Linked DNA regions of Homo sapiens: all the other regions are linked to region 5. The links are contacts of gene promoters, found by promoter capture Hi-C in blood cells and fetal thymus (Javierre and others, 2016). All regions are on one chromosome and are shown on one strand. Each heading gives the region's core, a stretch centred on a gene start or on the middle of the fragment in contact. The rest is flanking DNA. Distances are from core to core; before and after follow the strand shown.

Evidence for each region. The method cuts DNA at HindIII sites, captures the fragments that hold promoters and counts their contacts. A CHiCAGO score of 5 or more calls a contact.
Region 1: a fragment that was not itself captured here is called in contact with the fragment with the promoter of GTPBP4 in region 5 in 7 of 17 cell types (neutrophils, monocytes, naive CD8 T cells and 4 more); the score reaches 20.5 in neutrophils.
Region 2: a contact is called between a fragment that was not itself captured here and the fragment with the promoter of GTPBP4 in region 5, in 2 of 17 cell types (neutrophils and monocytes). The highest score is 11.9, in neutrophils.
Region 3: a fragment that was not itself captured here is called in contact with the fragment with the promoter of GTPBP4 in region 5 in 15 of 17 cell types (neutrophils, monocytes, fetal thymus and 12 more); the score reaches 32.6 in neutrophils.
Region 4: a contact is called between a fragment that was not itself captured here and the fragment with the promoter of GTPBP4 in region 5, in 12 of 17 cell types (monocytes, neutrophils, M2 macrophages and 9 more). The highest score is 29.1, in monocytes.
Region 6: a fragment that was not itself captured here is called in contact with the fragment with the promoter of GTPBP4 in region 5 in 5 of 17 cell types (monocytes, M2 macrophages, M0 macrophages and 2 more); the score reaches 13.0 in monocytes.

What each region holds. Positions count from the first base shown.
Region 1 is chr10:1,077,429-1,080,128 of GRCh38, reverse strand. WDR37 (WD repeat domain 37) reads right to left here. Exons shown (of 14, transcript NM_014023.4): 3 at 2,126-2,222; 4 at 23-118. Among named protein-coding and RNA genes, the nearest start is that of WDR37, 22 kb to the right of the region's middle. The HindIII fragment of the contact is 5,962 bases long and covers 1-2,700 here.
Region 2 is chr10:1,097,093-1,099,926 of GRCh38, reverse strand. All of the region lies in intron 9 of WDR37 (WD repeat domain 37), which reads right to left. Among named protein-coding and RNA genes, the nearest start is that of WDR37, 42 kb to the right of the region's middle. The HindIII fragment of the contact is 3,550 bases long and covers 1-2,834 here.
Region 3 is chr10:1,051,477-1,054,260 of GRCh38, reverse strand. It overlaps a transcript of IDI1 not described here. Among named protein-coding and RNA genes, the nearest start is that of WDR37, 3.5 kb to the left of the region's middle. The HindIII fragment of the contact is 5,007 bases long and covers 1-2,784 here.
Region 4 is chr10:900,367-903,300 of GRCh38, reverse strand. The region is part of intron 1 of LARP4B (La ribonucleoprotein 4B); the gene reads left to right. Among named protein-coding and RNA genes, the nearest start is that of LARP4B, 30 kb to the left of the region's middle. The HindIII fragment of the contact is 998 bases long and covers 804-1,801 here.
Region 5 is chr10:987,015-989,714 of GRCh38, reverse strand. It overlaps GTPBP4 (GTP binding protein 4), which reads right to left and starts at 1,281. Exons shown (of 17, transcript NM_012341.3): 1 at 1,188-1,281. The coding sequence starts at 1,235. It also overlaps a transcript of LARP4B not described here. The HindIII fragment of the contact is 2,419 bases long and covers 93-2,511 here.
Region 6 is chr10:880,157-882,960 of GRCh38, reverse strand. The region is part of intron 3 of LARP4B (La ribonucleoprotein 4B); the gene reads left to right. Among named protein-coding and RNA genes, the nearest start is that of LARP4B, 50 kb to the left of the region's middle. The HindIII fragment of the contact is 2,488 bases long and covers 264-2,751 here.

The sequences.
Region 1 (2,700 bases), core at 143-2,642, 90 kb before region 5:
ACTTTCATGGGATTCACCTTACCTTTTGTTTTGAGTTGGCCCTTACTCAGCTCTGCTCCATCAATCGCTTGTCCTTCAGCAGCTAAACGTTCATTAAGAGTGTCGATTTCTCTACGTACTGGGAAGAAAAAAGTTTTCAAAAATCTAAAGTATGTTTTTATGTTTAAGTGTACTCACCACTTCCAAAACTCGCACACAGAAAAAATGCTATATATTAGTGTTATATAAACAAAGACATGAATAATATTCTAATAAGCAAGATCACAATTCATAGAGTTCTCAAAAAACTAAAGAAACCATTCGAGGCTGGGTGAGGTGGCTCACGTCTGTAATCCCAGCACTTTGGGAGGCCAAGGCAGGTGGATCACGAGGTCAGGAGTTTGAGACCAGCCTGACCAACAGGGTGTCTCTACTGAAAATACAAAAAATAGCCGGGCGTGGTGGTGCATGCCTGTAATCCCAGCTACTCAGGAGGCTGAGGCAGGAGAATTGCTTGAACCCGGGAGGCAGAGATTGCAGTGAGCCGAGATCACGCCACAGCACTCCAGCCTGGACAACAGAGTGACACTCCATCTCAAAAAAAAAAAGAAAGAAAGAAACCATTAGAGATACCATTCCAAAAGTAAAAGCTCACACACTTGCTACACTGTGGAAGACACTGCTATCAGGGTCTCAAAGACAGCACCCGCATTTCAACATAGTTTCCATAGTGATTGATTCTGCACGATTAAAAACATTATTCTGGGCTGGGCACAGTATCTCATGCCTGTAATCCCAACAATTTTGGAGGCCGAGGCAGGCAGATCACTTGAGGCCAGGGGTTCAAGACCAGCCTGGCCAACATGGCAAAACCCCTTCTCTACTAAAAATACAAAAATTAGCCAGGCATGGTGGTGGGTGCCTGTGATCCCAGCTACTTGGGAGGCTGAGGCATGAGAATCGCTTGAACTTGGGAGGCGGAGGTTGCAGTGAGCCCAGATCACGCCACTGCACTCCAGCCTAGGTGACAGAGCAAGATTTTGTCTCAAAAAAAAAAACAAAAAAGTTGAAATGATTTTTCCCTCTATGAATTGTAAAGGTGGACTCTTTAAAAAGGAGAATCCAGTATTAACATTAAAATTTCCAAAAGCAAAGTTTAAATGACAGAGGATTATATTCTCTTCATTATTCATCCAACCACACCACTTAGTTACAGAGTGAAAAACAGCTTAACAATGGAAATGCTCTTTGTTAGTATTCAACCTTTGGAATCAACCTGTAGATAAAGCATGAAAGACTTGATTGTAGTTACATTTGTCTAGTACAAATTTTATAGTTTGGGTGTGGTGGCTCACACCTATAATCCCAGCACTTTGGGAGGCCAAGGTGGGAAGACCACTTAAGCCCAGGGGTTTGAGACCAGCCTGGGCAACACAGTGAGACCCTGTCTTTATATATATAAATTTTACAAACACAAACCCTGAAGGAGAAAAACTGGAAAGTAATAGAGCAGCGCAAAGGACCTGTTTATTTCACTGTGAAGCATTAACACTAAAGCGGATAGATCTAAAACCAGAAGATGATTACTTACATTCACAGGACTAACCACCAAAAGAACCAAAAGCAAAAACATGCAGAAAATGTCTTCCTTTGAAGAGTGCGATGGGCTTGAGGGGTAATGGTAGATTTCTTTTTATACTGTCTGATAAATTTTTAAGCACATATGGCCATTACTTCCAAAATAAAAAAAAGATAAATTAAAGCCAAGCTAATTCAAAATTGTTTTGATTTGTCTTTAATAAGTCAGATATAGTATATGCATCAATTTTCAAATGATGGTATATTAATAAAAAAGTAAATCAATGTTTTCTCAATTTATGGTGTACTTGGTGTAGGGAAAATGATAAGATCCATGTATTTTTTATTTTTTATTTTTATTTATTTACTTTTGAGACGGAGTCCTCGTGGGAATTATACCAGACCCACAGAACTGCAAGATGACAAATCTGTGTTAGTTTAAGCCACTAAAATAAGTTTAAGTTTGCTACAGCAGAACAGAAAACTAATATAGTGATGAATGTCTATTCATAAATTTGACTATGGATAGGTAAAGCTATAAAAGTATATTAAAATAGGAGATACTCACATTCTAAGTTTTCGATATAAAGGTTTTCAAATTCTCTTTCTATTTGACCAAACAGTTCCAGAAGTGTACTGCGAACCGAGGAAGGCAGTTTAGAATCCTGCAGAAGAAGACTTTGTTTAAAATGAATGAATGAATGAAAAACTCTAAGTACAAATATGCTTTTTCCAAAGTGAATTATCTTTTATTGTAAACTCTTATTTTGTATTATTACATATTTTTATATATAAAATGCTTAAAGAGTTTAAAGTTCCAAATTTCTGCCAAGGAGACTATAAATCAAATTGTATAAATGGCTACCTAGTATGATATGGGATTTGAAAATAAACACTCCTTCAAAATAACACAATTTTTCCCTTTACAAGAGAGGACATAAGCCTACCTTATTTTAAAACTTCCAAATTTGGAGAGAAAGGCGGCAGCTCCCATAAATGAACTATTATAAACAGCCTCTGAGTGCCATCATACGCTATCCTACAAGTATTTTAATCTGCTAGACCCTCATGGAAGAGGCACCTTTGCAGAGTTCCCGCCACACCCACTGCACTTTAAGCAAAAGCACAGTCACTCTCCCATCA
Region 2 (2,834 bases), core at 11-2,510, 110 kb before region 5:
TGCTCACCCTCCTCACCTCTCCACCACTCCACCACGCCCGCCATCAGCGCACATTTTGAATTTCCTGAGCATCAATGCTCACCCTCCTCACCTCTCCACCATGCCCGCCATTAGTGCACATTTTGAATTTCCTAAGCATCAATGCTCACCCTCCTCACGTCTCCGCCACACCATCAGTGCACACGCTGAATTTCCTAAGCATCAATGCTCACCCTCCTCACCTCTCCACCACGCCCACCATCAGCACACATTTCACTTGTTTCATCACTAAATGTGCGTGTTAGTGGACAGTGTTATGCGCTACATAATGAATAGTCTGGCAATTCCACAAAGAGAACAAAACTGTGTTAATACACAATACATGCAGTTAAAAATGAACTATGATAACCTCTATTAGGACTAAAGAAAACTCATTTATCACTGGAATTTATTAACTGCTTAACTATCTCCACATAGAACAGTGTTTAGAATGTTCACAAAGCAGAAAACTCAAGGAATATTCCAAGATGAAAATATCAAAACTAGATTACTTTCATCCTTGCAACAATCACAGCCCAATACAAACTGAAACTTCTAGACGTGGACGTCATTTACACTGTCTGCCTGGCACTGTTCCCACCTGTTCAGGCACCGAACTGGGGGGGCTGAGCACGTGGGAAGATCACGCCACTAACATTTATCCTGTCATTGAAACTAGGGAGATAACTGCTCTCAGAGAAACATTCAGGCCTCTTTGTGATCATAAACATAGGGCACTGGGCTACTGCAGAGAGCACAAGGCAAACAGTAAGTGAAGAATTTTATGAATTTATGGTATAAATACATGAATTCATTCTTCTCAATACACATCTTTTGTTACCTACGTTTAAATGTGAACCACATAAAATTGATGTCATAAAGGCCATTAGTTGATGTGATGATAAACGTCCATGAAAGATACACCAGATGTCTAATATTAAACAGATGAAACAGTGAGAAACAGGATCCAAACATCAACTGTAAGAGAGTGGACGGTAAATGTTTACTGTCTGTTGAAAGGAAGGATGGAGCAGATGCATGCATACAGAGGTGAAGGAGCATCTTTCTAGGCACTGTCTCATTCAACGCAGGCTGCCAAAACACAAGACTACAGGCCAAAAGGCTTCAAAAACAGAAATTAGTCATCTTCCAGTTCTGGAGACTCTAAGTCCATGACCAACGTGTCAACCAGTGCAGCTTCTGGTGAGTCCCCTCTTCCGGTGTGTGGCACCGCCATCCTGCCGCGTGCCCACAGGGGCTCTTCTATTAATATTAGCACAGAGAGGCTGGGCACGGTGGCTCACGCCTGTAATCCCAGCACTTTGGGAGGCCGAGGAGGGCGGATCACGAGGTCAAGAGATTGAGACCGTCTGGCGAACGTGGTGAAACCCCATCTCTACTAAAAATACAAAAATTAGTTGGGTGTGGTGACACGCATCTGTGGTCCCAGCTACTCGGGAGGCTGAGGCAGGAGAATCCCTTGAACCCGGGAGGTGGAGGTTGCAGTGAGCCAAGATCACGCCACTGCACTCCAGCCTGGGCAACAGAGCGAGACTCCATCTCAAAAAAAAAAAAAAAAAAACGGACAGATGGGGAGGGGGTAGAAAGAGAGCGTGCACACACAAGGGCAGCCATAAGGGTGAGCTGTCTGGTGTCTCTTCTGACAAGGACACACTCATCCTATGGGATCAGGGCATCCCCTCCACTACCTCATTTTGCTTTAACCACTTTCTCAGAGGCCCCATCTCCAAATACAGCCACACTGGGGGTTAGGGCTTCAACACAGATTTCTGGGGGACGGAGACATTCAGTTGAGAACATCCTGTCCCTGGCCTCCCCCAAATTCATATCCTTCTTGCATGGCAAATACAGTCATCCCATCCCAACAGCCCCAGAAGTCTTATTCCAGCATCAGCGCTAAGGTGTGAAGTCCCAAGTCTCAACAAAACATCACCTGAATCAGGACTGGGTGGGACTCAGAGTGCGATTCGCCCACCCTGAAGCTGAGCTCCCCTCCAGCCGTAAACCACGGAACCCAAACAAGTTACATGTTCCCAAAATACAACAGTAGGGCAGGCACTGGACAGACGCTCCCTTTCCAAAAGAGAGAAAGAGGCAACAGGGAAAGGGTGGTGGGGCCCAAGCAAGTCCAAAACCCCACAAGGCAAACTCCACGAGCTCTTCAGGCTCCAGAGAGTCCCTCTTGGTCTGGATGCGCCACCCTCCAGGCATGCTGGGGCAGAGGTGTCACCCCCTTGGCTCAGCCTGGCAACCCCACCCCCACAGCACTGGACCATGGGCAACCTGGCCCTGAAACCAAGGAGGCTCCCACACTTCGAAACCAAGGAAGAAACAGGCTCTTGTCCTGGGACTGCAGTGAGAGCTGCAGCCCTGCCAACCTCAGAATCACCTTCGGGGCATTCTTCCCTCATCTTGAAGGGTGGTAAAGGTTCTCGCCCAGGCAGCTCTGGTTTCTGTGCTGTGGAATCCCAGCAGTCTGATGCCTTCCTTCATTCTGTCCCCACCATGTCCCCTCTGGTTCAAGCTGGCGGGGTCTCTGGGTATAATCCCATCTCCAGTCCTGGATCCTGCTGCGGTGGGTGCTTAAAGCTGTGGCTCCCACCCACACTCGCCTCCCTGTCAACTGGCTGTTCAGACAAACCCTGCATGTGCTCTTCGGAACCAGCTTTCTCTTTTTTTTGTCACAGACACAGGCTGGGAATTTCCCAAATCTTACAAGTTCTCGTCCCCTTTCCCTTAACAACTCTTTCGGAGTATCTCCGTCCTTTCACACTTTATTGTAAGCGAGGAGAGCA
Region 3 (2,784 bases), core at 9-2,508, 65 kb before region 5:
TATTGCACTTCACAGGTATCATATGTTTCTTACAAAGTGGAGGTTTGTGGCAGCCCTGCATGGAGCAAGTCTGTCAGCACCATCTTTCTAACAGTATGTGCTCACTTCATGTCTCTCTCACATTTTGGTAATTCTTGGAATGTTTCCGTTATTAAATCAGTTATAGTGATCTGTGATTAGTGATCTTTGATATTACTGTCATAATTGCTTGGGGGGCACCATGAACCACCCCTATATAAGACAGCAAACTGAGTCGATAAATGTTTTATGTGTTCTGACCACTGCACTGACCAGCTGCCTCCCTATCTCTCTCCTTCTGCTCAGACCTCCCTATCCTTGAGACACAGCAATACTGAAATTAGGGGCCAGGCATGGTGGTGGCTCATGCCTGTAGTCCCAGCTACTTGGGAGACTGAAGCAGGAGGATTGCTTGAGCCTAGGAGTTCGAGGCTGCAGTGAGCTGTGATCACGCCACTGCACTTCAGCATGGGCAGCAAAGCAAGACCCTGACTCAAAAAAAAAAAAAAATCAGGCAATTAATAGCCCTAAAATGGCTACTGTTTCATAAAAGAATGAGTTGCACATCTCTTACTTTAAATCAAAACTAGAAATGATTAATGATTAAGCATGGTGAGGAAGGCATGTTGAAACAGCTAAGTCGTGAATGCAAAGGAAAAGTTCTTGAAGGAAATTTGAAGTGCTCCTACAGTGAATACACAAATGGTAAGAAAATAAAACAGCTTTATTGCTGATATGGAGAAACTCTGAGTGGTCTGTATAGATTAAACCAGCCACAATATTCTGATAAAGCCTAATCCAGAGTAAGGCCCTAACTCTCTTCAGTTTTCTGAAGGCTGAGAGAGGTAAGGAAGCTACAGAAGAAAAATCTGAAGCTATCAGAGGTTGGTTCATGAGGTTGAAGGAAAGAAGCTGTCTCTATAATACAAAAGTGCAAGATAGGCCAGGCATGGTGGCTTATGCCTGTAATTCCAGCACTTTGGGAGGCCAATGCAAGTGGATCCCTTGAGGTGAGGAGTTCAAGACCAGCCTGGCCAACATGGTGAAACCCTGCCTCCACTAAAAATACAAAAATTAACTGGGTGTGGTGGCACACGCCTGTAGTCCCAGCTACTCAGGAGGCTAAGGCAGGAGGATCACTTGAACCCAGGAGTTGGAGGTTGCTGTAAGCCAAGATCACACCACCACACTCCTGGGTAACAGAGTGAGACTCCATCTCAAAAAAAAAAATGTGCAAGTGCAAGATAAAGCAGCAAGTCATCTAGGAGATCTACCTAAGATCACTGATGAAGACGGCTTTGCTAAACAATAGGTTTTCATTGGAGTTGAAACAACCTTATTTTGGGAAAAGATGCCGCCCAGGACTGTCATAACTAGAGAGGAGAAGTCAAAGCCTGGCTTCAGAGCTCCAAAGGACAGGCTGACCCTTGCTAGGGGGCTAGTGCAGCTGATGACTTTATGTTGAAGCCAGTGCTCATTTATCATTCTGAAAATCCTAGAGTCCTTAAGCGTTATGCTAATTCTAGTCTGCCTCTGCTGTGTAGATAGAACAACAAAGCCTAGATGACAGCACATCTACTTACACAGTGTGGTTTACTAAATATTGTCAGCCCACTGTTGTTGAGACCTACTGCTCAGGAAAAAAAAAAGATTTCGTTTCAAAATATTACTGCTGATTTACAGTGCTCCTGTTCACCCAAGAGCTCTGATGGAGATATACAAGGAGATTCATGTTGATTTCATGCCTGCTAACACAACATCCCTTTTGCAGCCCATAGCTCAAGAAGTCATTTTGACTTTCAAGTCTCATTATTTAAGAAATACATTTTGTAAGGCTATGGCTGCCCGAAGATGTAACTGAATCACTGCACTAGCATAATAAAACATGAATGGATAAGCAGTTGCTTCTTGTGGATGAACAAAGAAAGTGGTCTCTTGAGATGGAACCTAATCCTGGTGAAGATGTGAACACTGTTGAAATGATAACAAAGGATTCAGAATACTCCATAGACTTAGTTTATGAAGTAGCAGCAGGGTTTGAGAGGATTGACTCTAACTTTGGAAGTTTTCCTGGCCGGGTGCGGTGGCTCATGCCTATAATCCCAGCATTTTGAGAGGCCAAGGTGGGCAGATCACAAGGTCAGGAGTTCAAGACCAGCCTGGCCAACATGGTGAAACCCAAGCTCTACTAATAATACAAAAATTAGCCGGGCATGGTGGCACACGCCCATAGTGCCAGCTACTCATGAGGCTGAGGTAGGAGAATTGCTTGAACCCAGGAGGTGGAGGTTACAGTGAGCCAAGATCGCACCACTGCACTTCAGCCTGGGCGAAAGAACGAGACTCTGTCTCAAAAAAAAGTTTTCCTGTGGTTTAAAAAAAATCTTTCATGAAAAGAATTGTCAATCAACGTGACAAATTTCATTATTGTCTTATTTTAAGAAACTGCAACAGCCACCCCAACTTTCAAGCACCACCTTGATCAACAGCCATCAACATTGAGGCAAAACCCTCCACCAGCAAAAAGATTATGACTCATTGAAGGCTCAGCTGATGGTTAGCAGTAAAAAATATTAACTTTAATCATCTCGACCATTCAGTACTCATCTAATATTCTCTATAACAAAATGGGAAATGCACATAAAGCACTTCTGCTACATGCTGAATTATGATTGTTGTCTCCAGGAAAAGAACTTGTGGGAACGTTTGAGTTGTAAGCTGAACTAACTAGCTGCTTTTTTCATGAAATACCGCTTTTACTGGAAA
Region 4 (2,934 bases), core at 53-2,552, 86 kb after region 5:
CCTCTGGACTCTGGGTATACTTTGTTTGCCATCTGCGAGATCAGTCCATGGCTGAGAGATGGCATAAGTGAGCCTGAGTGCAGCAGTGAGCAGGTGGGTCTGAAGGATGTGGAAGAGTGGAAGTAGGGGACGCTTGCAAGTCAGGAGAGGCTTCCTGGGCATCCAGCACACATCCTGCCAGGTTAGGTTGAATCTTGTTTGTCCAGGTTGACATTCTCAACATGAGAAGTAATTTCTAATGGAATAAAATGCTGATGGACAGAAAAATGGAGGTTAGAATATATTCTAAACAGACTAGACAAAAGAGACAACTAGCTTTTCAACCAGGTAATTTAACATCTGTATTAAAAAGATTTTATGCCAGGCACCGTGGCTCACACCGGTAATCCCAGCACTTTTCGAGGCCGAGGTGGGCGGGATCACTTGAGGTCAGGTTGAGACCAGCCTGGCCAATATGGTGAAACCCTGTCTCTACTAAAAATACAAAAACTAGCTGAGTGTGGTGGTGCACACCTGCAATCCTAGGTACTTGGGAGACTGAGGCAGGAGAATCACTTGAACCTGGGATGTGGAGGTTGCAGTGAGCTGAGATGGCACCATTGCGCTCCAGCCTGGGCAACAGAGTGAGACTCTATCTCAAAATTAAAAAAAAAAAAAAAAAAGATTTTATGTTTCTGCTTCAACTTGAGGTTAAATGAAGTGAACGTGCTGCAGCTGTGCCCTGCTTAGACTGCAGATTTTGGTTTTGATGCTTCTTGGTAGTCCAGTATTTGACAAAGGAAGCTGTGTGAATTAGCTAAGCTTGTGTCCTAAAAAGATACTCCTAATGTAGTTGTCAACTTTTCCATTTGCTTTTCCCTTTGTGAAAGTGTGTGAAAAGGTGTGGAAACCCTTCCTAAGAAGCTCTTTACTGGGAAAGGTGTAGCACGGGATAAAAGCAAGAAGTGGTACTCCGAGGGCCATGATTCGCACTGCTGCAGCTTAGGGCTTGTGCAAAACAATGTTCTGTGCATTTGGTTCAGATACTTTATTTCAGCTTCTTTACAACCAAGTATTAGAGTGGTGGTTTTTGAGTTCGTCAAAGGTTTAATGAGTAAAATGCTCTCCTAGCCAGAGGGTTAATGAGATGATCTAAACTCCAGTTTCGGTGGTTGTTTTGTATTATGTTTTAGTAAGAATCCTAGCTAAAATGGTCTTTTCAAAAGATTGTACTCTCCAGAAGATAATGTCGTAGACCCAGTCACAGGCTTTAACGGTGGAGGGGACCGTTGTCCTTTTTTTGTGTGTCGACTTAGTAGACACGTTCTAAATTTAAAATCAGGAAGATTTTGAAAGTATATTATTTGGTGGTCTTCTCATGTAGGTACTTTTTCAATCAGATCTTGCTAACAAATAAGTTTTTGTATCTTGTGTCTGATTATGTCCTCCTTAGGAGGAGAACCAACTCAAACTATAAATAAAACTCACATTTTCTCACTGCTGTTTTTTTCAGTAGAAGCACCGATGTACACATATAAAGGACATTTTACAAAATTAGTCTTGAAATTTATTGGCAACATCTCCTTAGGAATACTCCAGTGCTGAGTGCCAGTTTAAATGTATAAACAACTACTCTACTGAGATTGGACGCATTTCTTTTATCCGTCAGTATCTTTGAGTGACACACTTACTATAAGAACATGAAACGAAAAGAATGGAATATCATAGAGATACTGAATCTTGAAAAAAACAAAAGACTAAAATAACAGTTTTGTTGGAAGCAGCAGTCTGTTGCTCTGTAAATGTTCCCACTATTCAAGCTTACAGATTCACTTGAGTATATGATGTGTATAAGGTACATGGAAGGAACATAAAATAATCTGCCCTAAGGTGCTCTCACATTATTCTATTGTAAGATAAAAATGTGCATTTCAAATATTACAGAGTGGTGCTGGCAGCCGTGAGATAAACCATATCATCCAACTAACAGCACAAGGCAGATGGATGAGGAACTAGAATTCCTATTGTATTTTATTTTCTGCACTTCTCTATTTAGATATGCACGTGGGAATCATAATGAAAATTTCTGTTAAGAAATATATCCTTCTGCTGGGTGCGGTGGCTCACTCCTGTAATCCCAGCACTTTGGGAGGCCGAGGCGGGTGGATCAGGAGGTCAGGAGTTCGAAACCAGGCCAACATGGTGAAACCTCGTCTCTACTAACAATACAAAAAATTAGCCGGGCGTGGTGGCAGGTGCCTGTAATCCCAGCTACTCATGAGGCTGAAGCAGGAGAATCGCTTGAACCCAGGAGGCAGAGGTTGCAGTTAGCCGAGATTGTGCCATTGCACTCCAGCCTGGGCAAAAAGAGCAAGACTCCGTCTCAAAAAAAAAAAAAAAAAGAGGCCAGGCGCTGGTGGCTCACACCTGTAATCCCAGCACTTTGGGAGGCTGAGGCAGGCAGATCATGAGGTCAGGAGTTCGAGACCAGCCTGGCCAGTGTGGTGAAACATCGTCTCTCTAAACATACAAAAATTAGCCAAGCGTGGTGGCGTGCACCTGTAGTCCCAGCTACTCGAGAGGCTGAGGCAGGAGAATCGCTTGAACTCGGGAGGCAGGGGTTACAGTGAGCTGAGATTGTGCCACTGCACTCCAGCCTGGGCAACAGAGTGAGACTGCTTCTCACAAAAAAAAAAAAAAAAAGGAAATATATCCTTTTTTAGCTGGGCTTTGTGGCATGCTCCTGTAGTTCCAGCTACCTGGGGAGCTGAAGCAGGAGGATCACTTGGACCCAGAAGGTCGAGGCTGCAATGAATTGAGATCGGGCCACTGCACTCCAGCATGGGTGAAAAAGTGAGACCCTACCTCAAAAAAAAAAAAAAAAAAAAAAAAAAAAAAAAAGACATCCTTCTTTCCGATCCTAGAATGCTATGACTGTGCTTTTTATTATTATCA
Region 5 (2,700 bases), core at 32-2,531:
AGAACAACTGTCAGGAAGAAATAAGAAATGGTGGAGAGAAGTGGGGAAACAACTTTTGCTATGAAGGTAAAATACGAGACTCCCACAAAGCTTTCCAAGGCAAGCTCATCCCGTCCTTGAGACCTGAAGAAAAGGAGGCACTGACGAGGGGAAAACAGTCACTCTGCAGGGACTTCAGTAACTCCCTCTCGTGCAGGAGTCCCTGGGAGGCTCCAGTTGCCCGTCAATGTCTGTGTAATTGCGACCCAAATCGAATGTTCACTACATAAAAACGTGACTTCTTAAAAGTCCTAATACTAGGGCCGGGCGCAGTGGCTCACGCCTGTAATTCCAGCACTTTGGGAGGCCGGGGCGGGAGGATCACCCGGGATCAGGAGTTCGAGGCCAGCTTGGCCAACGTGGTGAAACCCCGTCTCTACTAAAAATACGAAAATTAGCTGGGTGTGGTGGTGCACGACTGTAATCCCTGTTACTCGGGAGGCTGAAGCAGGAGAATCGCTTGAACGCGGGAGGTGGAGGTTGCAGTGAGCCGAGACTGCGCTCCAGCCTGGGAAACAAGAGCGAAAAACTATGTCTCAAAAAAAAAAAAAAAAAAAAAAAGTCCTAATACTCAACACTTGTTGACTCATTCTTGCCACACCAACCAACGCTGTAAAAATTTAGTCTGGGCCTACTATGGTCTGAAAAGGAACAGGTATTCCCAAATCTAACAGTGAAAGAGAATGACTTAAAAATTATGAAACGTTAAATCACGAGAACAACGAACCCAGGATTCCTGAGAGGGGAGGGGGCTACGCCAAACCCAGAATCCGAAGGCTCATCACGGACCACGGAACGCTTCCTCCCTCACATGTCGGGGTCCCCCTCCACTCGCCCACATCGTCACCCGGGGCCCCTCCAGGGAACCCAACTCTGGGTGTACCCCCATCTCTGGGGGCCCTCAGTCTTTGGGTGGACCACGGTCTTAGGTGGACCCCGGTCTCTGGGGGATCCGATCTCTGGTGGACCCCGGATTCTGCTGGGGGAGGGGAAATGATCCCGAGTACGCGGCCAGACGGTCAGGCCCAGGAGCGGGGGATGGGCGAGCGGAAGGCGACCGCTCTCCCACGGCTACAGGCCCGGACCCTCCCCGGGGACCCAGCTGAGGAGAACGCGAAAGTTGCAGTGGCCCTCCCGGGGCCGCCTACCTTGGCGGACGGCACCACCGTAATTTTCTTGAAGTTGTAATGTGCCATGCCGGCAGCCGTATGCACGCGGGTACTTGGCACTCCCGGAACTTCCGCCGTCGGGCGCAGGTGGGACTTCCACTGTCGGGCGGTTGAGGTACGTCACTTCCGGGAGCTCAGCCAATCGTGTTCTGCGTGCTCTACGGCGCTTTCCGCGTCGCACAGCGCACCCGCCCGGCTTGGAGGTCAGCCACGGAGGGCGTGTGAGGGCCTCAGGAGCGAGGGTACAGAGGAGAGGACGCCCGGGTTTTAGGGGGAGCGCGGAGACTAAATTCCTGCTGAGTAAAGCGGGGGTTTCCGACAGACTGCCCTGCGGGTTTCTGGAGCGGGTTCAGGCCCCCAGCCACGCGCCCTGGGCCAGGGTTGGAGGGTCCGGGGTCTTGGGATTTGGGAGTTGCGGGGCTTAGGAGTCCAGAGGGTCTAGGGGATCCGGGAGTCTGGGGGTCCTGGGTCGCGGCGAGCCCCGCAAAGGAGGAGGAAGCCGCGCGTGCGGGGCGTGCCCAGCCTCTGGGTGTGGAGCAGATGACGCCCCTACCCCGGCCTCGCGCGTGGGACTTGATCCCGGGCCGTGGTGAGGAGGCCCTCGCGGCTTCCCTGCAGCCCTGCTTTCTCGTGCTTGTTAAATCCCAAAACGGGCGGAGAAGGGAAAGCCTGATCTAAGGCAAAAGAGGTGCAGCTGGTTCCGCGCAGTGCCTTAGGAGAGCCCAGGGAACAGTTGCGAGAGACAGTCCTGTGGGGTCCAACTGAGGAGAAGGTTGATGAGGATGGAGCCTTTACTGCTTTTATGTTTGTGAATAGAGTGGCCGCTCCCTTTGGGAACCCAGGGCCACATCCCTTAAATTAAACGTTAGGTAGGGCTGACTCAGTCAAGCAGTGTTCAGAGCTGCTGACTATATATTAACTCGTTTAATTTCTGCAACAGCCTCATGAAGTGCATGGGGAAACAAAGGCACACAAGGCTCGAAAGCACCCCGTGGTTGTGCAGCTGACAAGCTAACAGGCAGCAGAGGTGGGCTTTGAACCCAGGCAGCCTGGCTCCAGCAAACCTGCTTCTAACCATTAGCTATACTGCTTCTCACGCATCTGGGATGCCCCCCACTCTCCAATCCTTTTAAACAAGTCCTATTATTCTTACGCGAAAATACCTCTCATAAATTCCCAGCATTCCAATATTGAAAATCATTCTGGGTCATGCTTTTCTCATCTATTAACTATGCTTCCATTTTTGTGTCACAAGGCGGATAAGCATACCTCCTACATCTTTGTGGCACTTCTAAAGGAAGCTTCTAGGGTAATTAGGATTTGCTGGCTATGATCATTTGCTAAACCACAGGACAGTTCTGGCCACCATTTCCGAGATTAGCAAAGCTATGCTCATACTTATTGCCCTTTCTTTTAGGTTCTTGTATGTTTCCTCAACCTCTCCCACTTTCTCTCACTCTGATATAGCCAGTTCCTCTTTTTCTTGTAATCC
Region 6 (2,804 bases), core at 258-2,757, 110 kb after region 5:
TTGACCAGGAGTTTGCATTGGTTTAGTGATTAGGTGGCAGTGCTCAGCCAGTTGTTATGATGGGCAAGTGAATACATTTAGCAGTCAGGGTTGAGGAACCAGGCTATTTACAGTTTAGCCATTCTGTCAGAGTTGAGTAGGAGGAGACGTGCAATAGAGATACCCAAAGAAATACATGAATAATTCAGGAGCAGATTTGCATTTATCCACTGGTACTATTTAGTTGTATTTATTAGACAGCTTCCTGCCCTCTCCAAAAAGCTTACTGAGCTAGTAACTATTTACAGGGTTAGCCAAAGAACACAAAAAAGTGATCTCTATTAGACTGTAAGAATATGGTTTCCCTGAGATCGAGACCATCCTGGCTAACACGGTGAAACCCCGTCCCTACTAAAAATACAAAAAATTAGCCAGGTGTGGTGGCACACGCCTGTAGTCCCAGCTACTCGGGAGGCTGAGGCAGGAGAATGGCGTTAACCTGGGAGGCAGAGCTTGTAGTGAGCCGAGATTGTGCCACCACACTCCAGCCTAGGCAGCAGAGTGAAACTCTGTCTCAGAAAAAAAAAAAAATGGTTTCCCTATTTAGTATGAGAACAATATATTATAATGAGTGACATGATTGTCAGAATTACTCAAATTTGTGTACATGTTTTCTCCACTAAACTGTAAACTTCTGGTACTGTGTTCTGTTCATTAAAAAAAAAAACTTTATTAAAGTATAATTTACATTCTGTAAAACTCACCCATTTAAAGTATGCAATTGAATTATTTTTAGTAGATTTACTGAGTTGTGTAATCATCACCATAATGTAGTCTTAGAACTTTTACATTACCCCATTAAACCCCCAGCCCACCCCCAGGCCCACTTATAGTTAGGCCCTGTCTCTAAGGATGGGAGCATCCTTGGGCAGGCACAAACATGCTCTGTGTCTCCACATTCTGTTCCCTTCTGTGGCCAGCTCAATGCATTGTGTCTGGTAGGCAAGCAGCTAGTACTGCCTGCATAAAATTTGAGTATCCATCCATTCATCAAAACTGAGTGCAAGTGATCATGATGGCTAAGACATTTTCTATGGAGAGGTTGTTCAGATGAGCGTGAGATACACGTCTTCGAGGAGCCCTAACACAGCATGCAAGATTGCATGATCACATTGTGTGTGAGCCTTAGGTACAAGATGAGCGTACACCTGGAGGTGGGAGGCACTGAGACGTAGGTGAGTCTAGAAGAAGCACTCTTTATCTTGCCCCTAGTCAAGCAAGGTCATTTTGAATGTTCTCACCTTGAGGTCATAAGGATCTACTGATTTTGAAGTATATCGTACCAATAGTTATGATTACAGTACTTTGCATTAAGTTTACCTGAGTTCCAGGCAGGGACAGTGATGAAACTCTCGATTCCCTCAATATATCAGAAACAGGAAGGAATCTAGGACGCGGAGTGGTCAGAGGGATGGGAGGAAAACCAGAGGACAGTGTGGGGTGGAGATAGAGGCAGGGAGGCTGACTCAAGTGAAGTGTAGTAAGGTAACAAAGCGAGGGGTCAGTTGTGACCTTAGCAAGAGTATTTCCCAGGACTGATAGGAGCAAAAGCCAGATTGCAGTGGGTGAGAGACAGGAGTGGTAGACACAACTTAGACGGTGACATTCCTCCTAAGATCTTGGCTTTGAAGGTAAGGTGATAGAAGGCGAGAGGGGATTGAAAGGGTTTTGAGGGTGTTTATGATGAAGAGTGACCACTGGCAGTGGGCCACAGCGATGGGTTCTCCTTCTTGAGGAAGAAAAAATATCTGACCACTGGTATTCAGCAACAGTGTCGTTTGGTTAAAGGTTCTTTACCTTCCCTGTTAGCGCCACAAACTTCATCTATAGCAAACATCATTCTCAGCGGCTTTTTGCCCCTCCTGAAGCCCACTCAGGGACTCCAGTTCTTACTCCTGTGTGCGACCAGCCAAGTACCTGCTTTTCCCTTGGAGACACTACATCAGCCTGGAAACCATTTTCTGTTGAAATGATCCTCTTGTGTTTTATCATAAATCAACAGCAGGTTTGAGAGAGGAATGTGAGTGAATGATGATGTTTAAGGGACAGGTAATATTAGGTAGAAGTGTTTATGTTAAATTACCTCCTCAGAAGAAAGATGCAAAGTCACAGCAAGTCTTTTCTAATCATAGTGTGAAACTGGAAATCTGAAATTGGAAATCTAACTCATCCTCATACTAAACTCTATGTACAATTCAGCAAAACATCTATATCAGAATGATTTTTTTTTTTTTGAGTCAGCCTCACTCTGTTACTCAGGCTGGCTATAGTGCAGTAGTGCGATCTCTGCTCACTGCAGCCTCTGCCTCCCGGGTTCAAGCTATTCTTGTGCCTCAGCCTTCTGAGTAGCTGGAATTACAGGCATGCACCACCATGCTTGGCTAATTTTTGTATTTTTCGTAGAGATGGGGTTTCGCCATGTTGCCCAAGCTGGTCTCGAACTCTGGCCTCAAGTGATCTGCCCGCCTTGGCCTCCCAAGGTGTTGGGATTACAGGCTTGAGCCACTGCACCCGGCCCAGAATTTTTTTTTTTAAACTCCTTTACAGATGGTAATACCAAAAAACTTTAGTCCCTTCCTTTATCAGTTTTCAAAAAACCACCTTTGCCTTTTGATGACACAGCTTCTGAATGAATAACTATTAATTAGCAATTCAGATTAATTATTGCAGGCCTATATTTTGAATAAGAGTAGGCTTAGCAATCAGAAAGCTTGAATTTCTATGAAAATATCCAACTCCTGTATTTGTACGCAAGTGACACGTGG